Regions from separate parts of the Homo sapiens genome. Here all the other regions are linked to region 1. The links are contacts of gene promoters, found by promoter capture Hi-C in blood cells and fetal thymus (Javierre and others, 2016). All regions are on one chromosome and are shown on one strand. The core of a region is centred on a gene start or on the middle of the fragment in contact, and the rest is flanking DNA. Distances in the headings are between cores, read along the strand shown. Region 1 holds the start of LRFN4 (leucine rich repeat and fibronectin type III domain containing 4). Region 2 has its middle 2.7 kb from the start of C11orf86. Region 3 overlaps PC (pyruvate carboxylase).

Region 1 (3,844 bases), core at 1-2,500:
CATCCAACTCTCCTGGCCTACAGGAGGAACTTGTTTTCAGTGGTCAGGTAACGTGCCCAGGACTACACTGCTGTGCTGACAGGATCAGAATTCCAATCTTGGGTTTCCCCGAGTTTCCTGCCACCTGGCCCATGGGGATCAGGGCTGGAGGGAGAACGAGGATGGCTGAGGTTTAGGTGGCTTAAGGACCAGGAGACACGGGGAGGTGGTGACTTCCTGTTTCCCAACTGGGCAGACCACTGGTGGTGGCGGGCACAGCTGGAAGGAAACCAGGCTCGCCGAGCCACCGAAGCCCCAGCTTTCTCAACCAGGAAGCAAAGAACCTCCCCCACCTCACGCCGGGAGCCCTTTCTCTGAGAGGAGCTGGTTCCGAGCCGCTCTTCCAGGGAAATGGCCCGGCGGCGACAGAGCGGGAGGGAGGGGCCGCAGGCGCTGCGAGGACGCACAGCTTCCCAATGCGTGCCCCCGGCGGTTGGGAAGCCGCGCCGCGCAGACCAATCCGGCCCGAGGCGGAGGCCGGTTGGCTCCGGAACGCCTGGCCCGCGGGGCGGGCGGGGCAGCTGGGGAGGGAGGGAGAGGCGAGAGGCAGCTGGGGACAGGGCGGGGCGGCGGGGGCGGGGCGCCTGCCCGGAGGCCAAGCCCTCTCGGCCCCACCCCGCAGCAGCCCTGCCAGGGGCGCCGCCCCAGCCCCCCCCACGGCCGAACCCCGTGCCGGTTGGGGACCCTCCACGTGACTCGGTGATGCAGAACGGTTATGACCTTCAGCGTGTGTCTGTGAACGCAAGGGTCCCAGCAACAGTGCGGGTTTGCGCTCGGCCCTGCCCGTGGGTGCAGGGACGTGTGGGTGTGTGGGCATGTGTGGGTGTGTTGGGGAGGGTGCCCAGCGACATGTGACAAAGACGCCCGTCTCCGGGAGATGGTGAAGGGGCCCGCGAGCAGGCGCTTTGTCTGGCTGTCTGCAGAGTGAGGTTCGCGCCGCGGCGGCGGGCGCCCGTGCGGTGCAGGATGCCGGGGCGCCAGGATGGCCGGGGGCGCGCGCGCCTGTGCCAGGGTGAGTGCGCTGCGGCAGCGCCGGGGGACAGCGCGGAGGGCCCGCGCCGGCCCGGGCCTCGGGCGTGACTGGGCGCCACCCGTGGGCGCTGCAGCGGCCGCGTGTCCCCGTGACCTCAGGAGCCGGCCCGGGCCCGGGTGGATCCCCGCGCGCCCCTCCCCGTCCGCCCTCCACGTGCGTGTCCGCGGCGCGCGCGCCCGCCGGCGCGCACCCGCTCGCCTGTCGCCGCCGCCACCGCTAACCGCGCCGGGAAAAGGTGCCGGGAACCGAGCGAGCCGGGGCCGCGGGCCCGAGCGCCATGGGCCCGAGGGTGGGCGGCGGGCGGCCGGTCATCCCCGGGCCTCGTCCCCGCGGGAGAGCGGCCAGGAGTCGGCGGGGGCCGGCCGGGCTCGCAGGGAGGCCGGCCCGCGCCCCCTGAGCGACGGACACCAGGTGAGGGGGCCGCCGGGCGCAGCGCGGGGGCCGGCCAGGGAGGGGCCACGGACTCCACGGGAGGTTCGGGGGGCGCCTTCTCTGGCGGGGGAGGGTATGGCGGGGAGTGGGGAGGCGGCTGGCGATTCCTGGGGACGCCTGGGAAAGGAAGTTCCGGGACCCTCCCTGCTCTCGGTCCTCCTCCGCTTCCTGCCTCATGCCTCACCTTGTCCCCAGCGCCTGGACTCCCCCTTAACTGCTTGGGAAATGTGACCTTTGCTCTGGGGGGCCTGGCCCTGCAGGCCCCAACCTTCCCTCATCTCTGGCGGCCCTCTTGGGCCTCTGACCCAGCCCCTCCCCGGGCCAGGCTCACAGAAGCTGGCTTCTGGGACTGTCCTGGGCCCAAGTGGGCACCTGCGCCAGCCCCACCTGTGCCTGGGCTGTGGCCCCTTCCTACAGGGCGCTCACCATGGCCCCGCCGCTCCTGCTGCTGCTGCTGGCCAGTGGAGCGGCCGCCTGCCCGCTGCCCTGCGTCTGCCAGAACCTGTCCGAGTCGCTCAGCACCCTCTGTGCCCACCGAGGCCTGCTGTTTGTGCCGCCCAACGTGGACCGGCGCACAGTGGAGCTGCGGCTGGCTGACAACTTCATCCAGGCCCTGGGGCCCCCTGACTTCCGCAACATGACGGGACTGGTGGACCTGACACTGTCTCGCAATGCCATCACCCGCATTGGGGCCCGCGCCTTTGGGGACCTCGAGAGCCTGCGTTCCCTCCACCTTGACGGCAACAGGCTGGTGGAGCTGGGCACCGGGAGCCTCCGGGGCCCCGTCAATCTGCAGCACCTCATCCTCAGCGGCAACCAGCTGGGCCGCATCGCGCCGGGAGCCTTCGACGACTTCCTAGAGAGCCTGGAGGACCTGGACCTGTCCTACAACAACCTCCGGCAGGTGCCCTGGGCCGGCATCGGCGCCATGCCTGCCCTGCACACCCTCAACCTGGACCATAACCTTATTGACGCACTGCCCCCAGGCGCCTTCGCCCAGCTCGGTCAGCTCTCCCGCCTGGACCTCACCTCCAACCGCCTGGCCACGCTGGCTCCGGACCCGCTTTTCTCTCGTGGGCGTGATGCAGAGGCCTCTCCCGCCCCCCTGGTGCTGAGCTTTAGCGGGAACCCCCTGCACTGCAACTGTGAGCTGCTGTGGCTGCGGCGGCTGGCGCGGCCGGACGACCTGGAAACGTGCGCCTCCCCGCCCGGCCTGGCCGGCCGCTACTTCTGGGCAGTGCCCGAGGGCGAGTTCTCCTGTGAGCCGCCCCTCATTGCCCGCCACACGCAGCGCCTCTGGGTGCTGGAAGGCCAGCGGGCCACGCTGCGGTGCCGGGCCCTGGGTGACCCCGCGCCTACCATGCACTGGGTCGGTCCTGACGACCGGTTGGTTGGCAACTCCTCCCGAGCCCGGGCTTTCCCCAACGGGACCTTAGAGATTGGGGTGACCGGCGCTGGGGACGCTGGGGGCTACACCTGCATCGCCACCAACCCTGCTGGTGAGGCCACAGCCCGAGTAGAACTGCGGGTGCTGGCCTTGCCCCATGGTGGGAACAGCAGTGCCGAGGGGGGCCGCCCCGGGCCCTCGGACATCGCCGCCTCCGCTCGCACTGCTGCCGAGGGTGAGGGGACGCTGGAGTCTGAGCCAGCCGTGCAGGTGACGGAGGTGACCGCCACCTCAGGGCTGGTGAGCTGGGGTCCCGGGCGGCCAGCCGACCCAGTGTGGATGTTCCAAATCCAGTACAACAGCAGCGAAGATGAGACCCTCATCTACCGGTGAGGATGCGTGCCCCACACCCGGCTGCACTCCCGGCGCCCTTCCTCCGCCCTCTGCTCCCCACAAGGCTTTGCTTCCACCCCTCCTCTCTCTGGGGCTGACACCCCCTCCCCGACCATGGCTGCTGGACTCTTGGAGGAGCAGTGGCCTGGCCTGGCCTGGCTGCCTGAGGGGGCTGGAGCTCAAGGGGCGGCAGAAGGACCCCACCCCGAGATGTCCCAGGTGTCACTGAGCTGTGCAGGCCTCCCCGGCAGCAGGTGGCGGTTGGGTCTGTCTGAAGCACATGGCCCGCGCCCGCGTGTTATTTCTGCCTCTGCTGGTGCCATCCCCCCACCCCATTCCCCTCGCTTGCCTGCGTCCTGTGCCAGTGCACACACCCATCTCCTGGCCACACTCTCCAGCCTGTTCACCTTCCTGAGTGAACCCAAGAGCCCGAGTGGCCCCAGGGGGAGGGGTGTTTGGAGCTGGGAGCACGGGAGTGGGGAGGTGAGGATGGGGCTAGACCCCAGCCCCGGGCTCTGACCACCTGCCCTTGCCTGCAGGATTGTCCCAGCCTCCAGCCA
Region 2 (3,844 bases), core at 761-3,260, 120 kb after region 1:
GCCTCCAGAACCATGAATCAAATGAACAGTTGTTTAGAAATTAACCTGTCTCTGTTACAGCAACACTAATCAGCCTAAGATACCAGGTGAAGAAGGCAGAGAAGCAGTGAGGAGGGAAGGAGGAGAACACAGATTTTCTCCCTCTCCTCAGTGGATTTGGGAAGTTGTTTTAAGACTGCATCCTTGGCAAGAGGGTACTCCGCAGCTATGTGCTTGACGCAAGAGTGAGTGATTCATCCCACCACATCTCAAAAGTCTGTGAGTCAGCCAGTTCTTCCTGGGCTCAGACCTTTGTGAGAGTGGGGATTTGAGTTGACTACGTGTGTTGAAGTGAGGGCGTTGAAGATTGTGTAATGGTTTTGTTGCTTTTTAACCAGGGTCAGGATTGACCTTTGGTGTGTTGTCAGGGTTGAAATTAAAAGGTCTGGGTACAAATCAGAGCCAGTGTTTGGGACAGGCTGGGGCAGAAGGTCAGGGCTCCTTTTTTACATTCTCTTCACACTGGCCCTGTCATAGGTCCTCTGGGAGCTGAGCCTGGCAGATTTTAAGCAACCCTTCACCCAGGGAAGATTCAGAAACGGAGCAGAAAGGATGAGGGCAAGGCCAGGCCCTAGGGGACAAGGCTAGTGTGAGCCAAGAGCTGCAGCCAGCACTTCCCTGGCCCTGAATAGGGGTGCCCTCTGCAGTACCCCAAACATGGAGGAGGCAGGACAGCTGGCTTCCAGTCCTGCCTCTGCTGCCGAGTCTGGGGAAGGAGACCTGAGTGACTGAAGCATGGGTTTTTAAAGCCCGGCTGACCAGGGTGGCCGACCAGCTCTGCCACTTAGTGGGCATGCTCTCCAGCCAGGTGCTTAATCTCCCTGATCCTCAGTTTTCTGATCTATAAAATGAGATGACAATCCCCACATCATAGGACTATCATGAGGTTTAAATGAAATCTGTGAAGGGGTTGACTCAAAACAGTGGTTAAAACAAAAAGGAGCTGGGTGTGATGGCTCATGCCTGTAATCCCAGCTAGTCAGGAGGCTGTGACAGGAGGATCACTTGAGACCAGGAGTTTGTGACCAGCCTGGGAAACATAGAGAAACCTTCTCTCTAAAATAAACAAAGAAATACATAATAAAAATAAAACAAAAAGGAGCATGGAACAGATGTATGAGGTCCCTTCAGCACTCAAATTCTACCATTCTGAGGCCAGGCGTGGTGGCACACTTTGGGAGGCTGAGGTGGGCAGATTGCTTGAGCTCAGGAGTTCAAAACCAGCCTGAGTAACATGATGAAACTCCATCTCTACAAAAAATACAAAAATTAGCCAGGCGTGGTGGCACATACCCGTAGTCCCAGCTACTCAGGAGGCTGAGGTGGGAGGATCACTTGAGCCCAGGTGGTCAAGGTTGCATTGAGCTGAAATTGTGCCACTGCCCTACAGCCTGAGCAACAGAGTGAGACCCTGTTTCAAAAAACAAAACAACCATTCTGAGGAATCTGCTGGCCCAGCCCCAAGCTTCTTTCTCTTCCTCCTGTCTTGGGGGAAAGAGTTGCTGCCAGTAGTCTCACCTTTAGAAGCATCCACACTCATGATTTCATCTTATTTTTGAAACAACCCATTTTACAGGCTGGGTGCGGTGGCTCATGCTTGTGATCCTGGCACTTTGGGAGACCGAGGTAGGTGGATCATGAGGCCAGGAGTTTGAGACCAGCCAGGCCAATGTGAAACCCCATCTCTACTAAAAATACAAAAATTAGCCAGGCATGGTGGCATGTGCCTGTAATCCCAGCTACTCGGGAGGCTGAGGCAGGAGAATCGCTTGAACCCGGGAGGCAGAGGTTGCAGTGAGCCAAGATCGCGCCACTGCACTCCAGTCTGGGCGCCAGAGAGAGACTCCATCTCAAAAAAAAATTTAAAAAGAAACAACCCATTTTACAGATGAGACTGAAAGGATCTGCCCACGGCAGTGAATACCACTGATATGGTTTGGATTTGTGTCCGCACCAAACTTCATGTTGAATTGTAGTCCCTAGCGTTAGAGGTGGTTGGCTCATGGGGGTGGATTCTCGTGAATGGTTTAGCCCCATCCCCTTGGTGCTGTTTTCATGATAGTGAGTTCTTGTGAGATCTGGTTGTTTCAAAGTGTGTAGGCTGAGCACAGTGGCTCACGCCTTTATTCCAAACACTTTGGGAGACTGAGGTGGGCAGATCACTTGAGCCCAGGAGTTCAAGGCCAGACTGGGAAATATAGCAAGATCCTGTCTCCACCAAAAATACAAAAAATTAACTGGGCGTGGTGGCAGGCACCTATAGTCCCAGCTACTCAGGAGGCTGAGGCACGAGAATCACTTGAACCCGGGAGGCGGAGGTTGCAGTGAACCAAGATCGCGCCACTGCACTCCAGCCTGGGCGACAGACTGAGACTCTGTCTCAAAAAAAAGTGTACAGCACCTCCCGCCACGCTCTCTCTTTCTCCTGCTCCTATCATGTAAGATGCCTCATCCCCGCTTTGCCTTCCACCACGGTTGGAAGCTTCCTGAGGCCTCCCCAGCAGCAGAAGCTGCTATGCTTCCTGTACAGCCTGCAGAACCATGAGCCAATTAAACTTTTTGTCTTTATAAATTACCCAGTCTCAGGTATTTCTTATTTTTATTATTATTATTTTTTGAGACAGATTCTCTCTCTGTTGCCCAGGCTGGGGTGCAGTGGCGCAATCTTAGCTCACTACAACCTCCGCCTCCTGGGTTCAAGCGATTCTCCTGCCTCAGCCTCCCGAGTAGCTGGGATTACAGTTGCCCACCACTACACCTGGATAATTTTTTGTTTTGTTTTGTTTTGTTTTGAGACGGAGTCTTGCTCTGTTGCCCAGGCTGGAGTGCAGTGGCACGATCTCGGCTCACTGCAACCTCTGCCTCCTGGGTTCAAGCAATTCTCCTGCCTCAGCCTCCCGAGTAGCTGGGATTACAGGCACACGCCACCATGCCTGCCTAATCTTTGTATTTTTTCAGTAGAGACGGGGTTTCACCATGTTGGCCAGGCTGGTCTCAAACTCCTGACCTTGTGATCCACCTGCCTCAGCCTCCCAAAGTGCTGGGATTACAGTTGTGAGCCACTGCAACCTGGCCTAATTTTTGTATTTTTAGTAGAGAAGGGGTTTCACCATATTGGCCAGGCTGGTCTTGAACTTCTGACCTCAAGTGATCTACCCGCCTCAGCCTCCCAAAGTGCTAGGATTACAGGCATGAGCCACTGCTCCCAGCCTCAGGTCTTTCTTTATAGCAGCAGGAGAACGGACAAATACAACCACCAACTCACTTTGTTCGAGGGCTTGCTGTGTGCCAAGCCCTGTGGACCACATTTAATACGCACAACAATTACCCAAGTTATTTGTCCCTCTTACGAATGAAGGAGAAAAATGTGCCCAAGGTCACAAGGCTGCAAGGAATGAAGCTACAGTTTACCCAGAGGCAGTTGGTCCTCAGAGCTTGAGTGCTCAAGGATAGTGCTGTGCTGCTGGGACATTAGGGGCAGCGCTGGGCCTGGAAAAAATCCAGGCCTCCTGACTCCTAGCCTGGAGCCGTCCTGTTTCCTTCTGTTTCTTAAAAAAAAAAAAAAAAAAAAAGAAATTCTCCAGTATTGTATAACACATATACCATAAAGTTTACCATTTCAACCATTGTTGTGCAACCAATCTCTGGAACTCTTCATCTTATGAAATCTGAAAATTTACAGCCATTAAATTCTTCATTCCTCCCTCCCCCAGTGCCTGGCAACGGCCATCCTCCTTGCTGTCTTTGTGAATGTGATTGTTCTAGCTTGGAGCCATACTGATGCTTTTTTGAAAAATATATTTCT
Region 3 (3,844 bases), core at 369-2,868, 95 kb after region 1:
CACCTCTCATTGTAGGGATGCAAGTAAGAGAAATAACATCCAACTCTAGCAGCCAAGAATAAGAGGACAGAGCAAGCAGAGAGAGAACAAGGGGGTGAAACTCGTGGAGGGTGGAGTTCTTCCACGTTACGGCCATTCCCACCATGAGCCCATTGCCCTTACTCAATGGTAGCACGCAGACGGCACCTGCTGGCCCAAGACCTAGCTCCAAGGGAGGACTGCGGGAAATCTCACACAGGAAACCAGCTCCTGCGTCATGAAGGGTCGTCAGAGGAAAACCCCCACATAATGGGTGGAAAACCGAGAAAAACTCCTATACCAAGGAATCCCCACTCAGCACTGGATATGAGCTCTGGAGAAAGTTGTCCCTGAGCCACAAAGTCCCCAAGGCCACAGCGGGCCTGAAGGGAAGAGCATTATTGTTGTCACAAATGCTGGGAGAGCACCTGGTTCCCTGGCTCGGCTGCTCCTGCAGACCAGCAGGGGGAGAGGGGACTGGACTAGCAGGGGACCGGCGGGAGGGCTGTGGAATTTAGGCTGAGGGGAGGCCACTGAATCTCCCAGGCACCTGCCACCATGGAAATCCATGTTGGGGGAACTGTAAAAGCAGTAGAGGCCGGACGCGCTGGCTCACACCTGTAATCCCAGCATCTGGGGAGGCCGAAGAGGGCGGATCACCTGAGGTCAGGAGTTCGAGACCAGCCTGACCAACATGGTAAAATCCCATCTCTACTAAAAATACAAAAATTAGGCCGGGCACAGTGGTTCATGCCTGTAATCCCAGCACTTTGAGGGGCTGAGGTGGGTGGATCACAAGATCAAGAGATTGAGACCATCCTGGCCAACATGGTAAAACCCCGTCTCTACTAAAAATACAAAAATTAGCTGGGCATGGCAGCACACACCTGTAGTCCCAGCTACTCGGGAGGCTGAGGCAGGAGAATTGCTTGAACCCAGGAGGCAGAGGTTGCAGTAAGCCGAGCTTGCGCCACTGCACTCCAGCCTGGCAACAGAGCAAGACTCCGTCTCAAAAAAAAAAAAGAAAAAAAAAAACTTAGCCAGGTGTGGTGGCACATGCCTGTAAAATGTGCAGGGGAAGAAGGGCAGGTCCCTTTTTCCCCGTTGTTACCGTGACTGGCAAAGGTTGAGCGTCACCCTCTGGAAACCCGTGTCAAGTGACTTTACAACCAGCTGGCAGAACCACCTCACACCACAGCTGCCTGCTCTCCATGCTGACTCAAGGGGTCTTCTCAGAGACGGCCCAGCCCCAGGGATTCTTCCTGCCCAGCTTCCCAAGCTGACCATACCCTTCCAGAACCAGGGCCTTCTGCTGAGGCTGGCCAGCTGCCAAATGGGGCCAGCAGGGAGCCAGATGTCACTTTCCTGTAAAAATCAGGAGCAACTGGAAACAGACAAGACTGCTTAAACGGATATTATCCACAAATCAGAGCGCAGCCTTTTTTTATTGATTGAGCTTAAGACCTGACATGCCAAACTGCTGGCATCCACAGCTGCTCCTGGTGAAGACCCCCATGCATCCCGCCAGCCTGGATTCAGGCACAGGACTTACCCTTAGTGTTTGGTCAGCTCTCCAGAAGGCAGACACTATCTAAAGCAAAAGAAAAAACAGCATTACCCTCATTGCTCCAGGAACTTCCCAGAGAAAACAGGAGTGGCAAGAACACCGATTTTAGAACCCAGAGAACTTTTTCAGTCTTGTTACCCGGGCTGGAGTGCAATGGCGCAATCCCGGCTCACTGCAACCTCTGCTTCCCGGATTCAAGCGATTCTCCTGCCTCAGCCTCCTGAGGTAGTTGGGATTACAGGCATGTGCCACCACGCCCAGCTAATTTGGTATTTTTAGTAGAGATGGGGGTTTCTCCATGTTGGTCAGGCTGGTCTCGAACTCCCGACCTCAGGTGATCCACCCACCTCGGCCTCCCAAAGTGCTGGGATTACAGGTGTGAGCCACCGCACCCGGCCAAGAACTGTTTCTTTGCTTCCACTGAGGGCACCAGGAGGGTACAGAGCTGGAAGCGCCAGCTGTGCTGTCCCACTGCCTGGACTGCACCTCTTGTTACTCTGACAGCCGCTCTGTAATCACTCAAAGTCTGTTTCCTCATCTGTAAAATGGGAATAATAACAATGCCCATCTCACAGCGTACTAGGGAATACCCAATGAGGCAGCACACGCACAGCAGTGGCACCATGCCTGGCACAGAGGACACACTGGGACGTTAACCGACAGGCTAGGTGGGAAGCGCTTAAGTAAAACCCTTTTCTGCCACCCACTACACATGAACAAGAAGTTCTAGAAACAGTTCGTTTTATCTGAAGTGCTTTCTCTTCCTGCCCACTCCGTCCAGCCTCAGGCCCGCTTTCTCTGCATCTCCGCAGAGCTGTCTCTAATCCTTCAGGAGCTCCCTCTGAATACTGGGAGTCTGGTTCTTCTCTCACTCCACAACTTGAAACTAATAAGGAGCTGTCTTACGTGACCTGAGATGTGTACTCTATTTCCTGGCTATTTCCTCAAATCCTTTCCTGCAGAGACCCCTCTCTGCCATAAGTAAGAGCCCACCTCGTGTTTATGCCCATGGGAGCCCACAGTTGGTATTGTGTAATCACTTTTCGGAGTTTTATTGACTGCTTATTTCCGAAAAAGCCACACCTACCCTAGCCACTAGTCAATGAACAGCAAAATGGAAAAACAGGCCAGCAAGCTCAAATCCCTGTTCAGAGAAAACCAGCTGCCTTGACAGATAACGTCAAGGCTGAAATTCAATGTCTGGGGCACTCAAGTCAATAAAATATTTATTGAGCACATGCCTTGCACAAGGAACTGTATGTACACTCAGGCCCTGCCCACAAAGTGCCAAAAAGCAAGTTGTTAGGGGCTGGTTAAAAGAAGCAAAAATGGGATGGCACGTGAGAGGGACTCCAGCAGTGAGCCACCTAGCCTGCCTGGCTGTGTTACTCTGGGCGTTATTTCACCTCTCTGAGTTTCACCTATGAGAGTCCGTCATTTGTAAGAGATGGATCTAATAGGACCTTCGTAATAGGATTGTTGTGATAATCACATTATGTGTATGTAAGGGGCTTAGCAAGGCCGTCACCACCACACAGTAGTTGACTTTTATTATTAATAACAATAAATCATTACTTATCATCATCGTTATGAAAAGAGAGCCCAGTCCAACTGAATAGATTTGGCAAGCCTTAATAAAGTCCTGTGTCTCGAAGAATAATTTAATTTTGACAGGACAAGATAAGAAGCAAGGCCCTGCAGAAAACAAAGTCAACAAGAACAAGAGCAGAGGGGGGACCGTGAGAAGTGAGTTTGGGGTAACAGTGACTAATCTCACTATGGGGGCTGACACAGAAGAGGGTACCTGCGGAGGCAAATGGAAGAAAGAGCCCAACAGGTGGAATCATATTAGAGAGTCTTGAACGCCAAGATGAAGCAAGCTTTTCATTCGGTAAGTAAGAGGAAATGGTTTATTCTTTTGGCCATTTCCCATCTTCCACCGTCAGGCCCGACTCCTTTGGCAAAGTGTCCACAGGTGAGACTAGAAGGCAGCTAAGAGAAAGAGAGGAAGGCACGGTCAGTCAGGCCCAGGTGAGGTTTCAGAGTGAGCAGGCAAAATGCCCTGCTGCTGTGAAGGAGGCCTCTGGGTGAGAAACCTGCCCCAAAGCAGGAACTTTCAGGATACAAGAAACGGGGCCCATTCAGATGGGGGCAGGACGATATTGGGAGGCAGCCAAAGAGAAGGCCATGCTCATCCTCAATGAAAATGTTGACCAGAGGCCGGGTGCAGTGGCTCACGCCTGTAATCCCAGCACTTTG

The links. Contacts are between HindIII fragments. The CHiCAGO score rates a contact against its expected background, and 5 or more counts as called.
Region 2: a contact is called between a fragment that was not itself captured here and the fragment with the promoter of LRFN4 in region 1, in 1 of 17 cell types (endothelial precursors). The highest score is 7.2, in endothelial precursors.
Region 3: a fragment that was not itself captured here is called in contact with the fragment with the promoter of LRFN4 in region 1 in 2 of 17 cell types (endothelial precursors and M2 macrophages); the score reaches 5.7 in endothelial precursors.

Annotation. Positions count from the first base shown.
Region 1 is chr11:66,855,814-66,859,657 of GRCh38, forward strand. LRFN4 (leucine rich repeat and fibronectin type III domain containing 4) reads left to right here and starts at 1,251. Exons shown (of 2, transcript NM_024036.5): 1 at 1,251-3,280; 2 at 3,824-3,844. The coding sequence starts at 1,932. All of the region lies in intron 12 of PC (pyruvate carboxylase), which reads right to left. RefSeq lists silencers at 337-866, 1,027-1,136. The HindIII fragment of the contact is 17,472 bases long and covers 1-3,844 here.
Region 2 is chr11:66,970,709-66,974,552 of GRCh38, forward strand. No RefSeq gene overlaps it. Among named protein-coding and RNA genes, the nearest start is that of C11orf86, 2.7 kb to the right of the region's middle. The HindIII fragment of the contact is 1,017 bases long and covers 1,503-2,519 here.
Region 3 is chr11:66,950,860-66,954,703 of GRCh38, forward strand. It overlaps PC (pyruvate carboxylase), which reads right to left. Exons shown (of 23, transcript NM_001040716.2): 2 at 3,390-3,577; 3 at 1,571-1,609. Among named protein-coding and RNA genes, the nearest start is that of PC, 5.6 kb to the right of the region's middle. The HindIII fragment of the contact is 3,689 bases long and covers 1-3,463 here.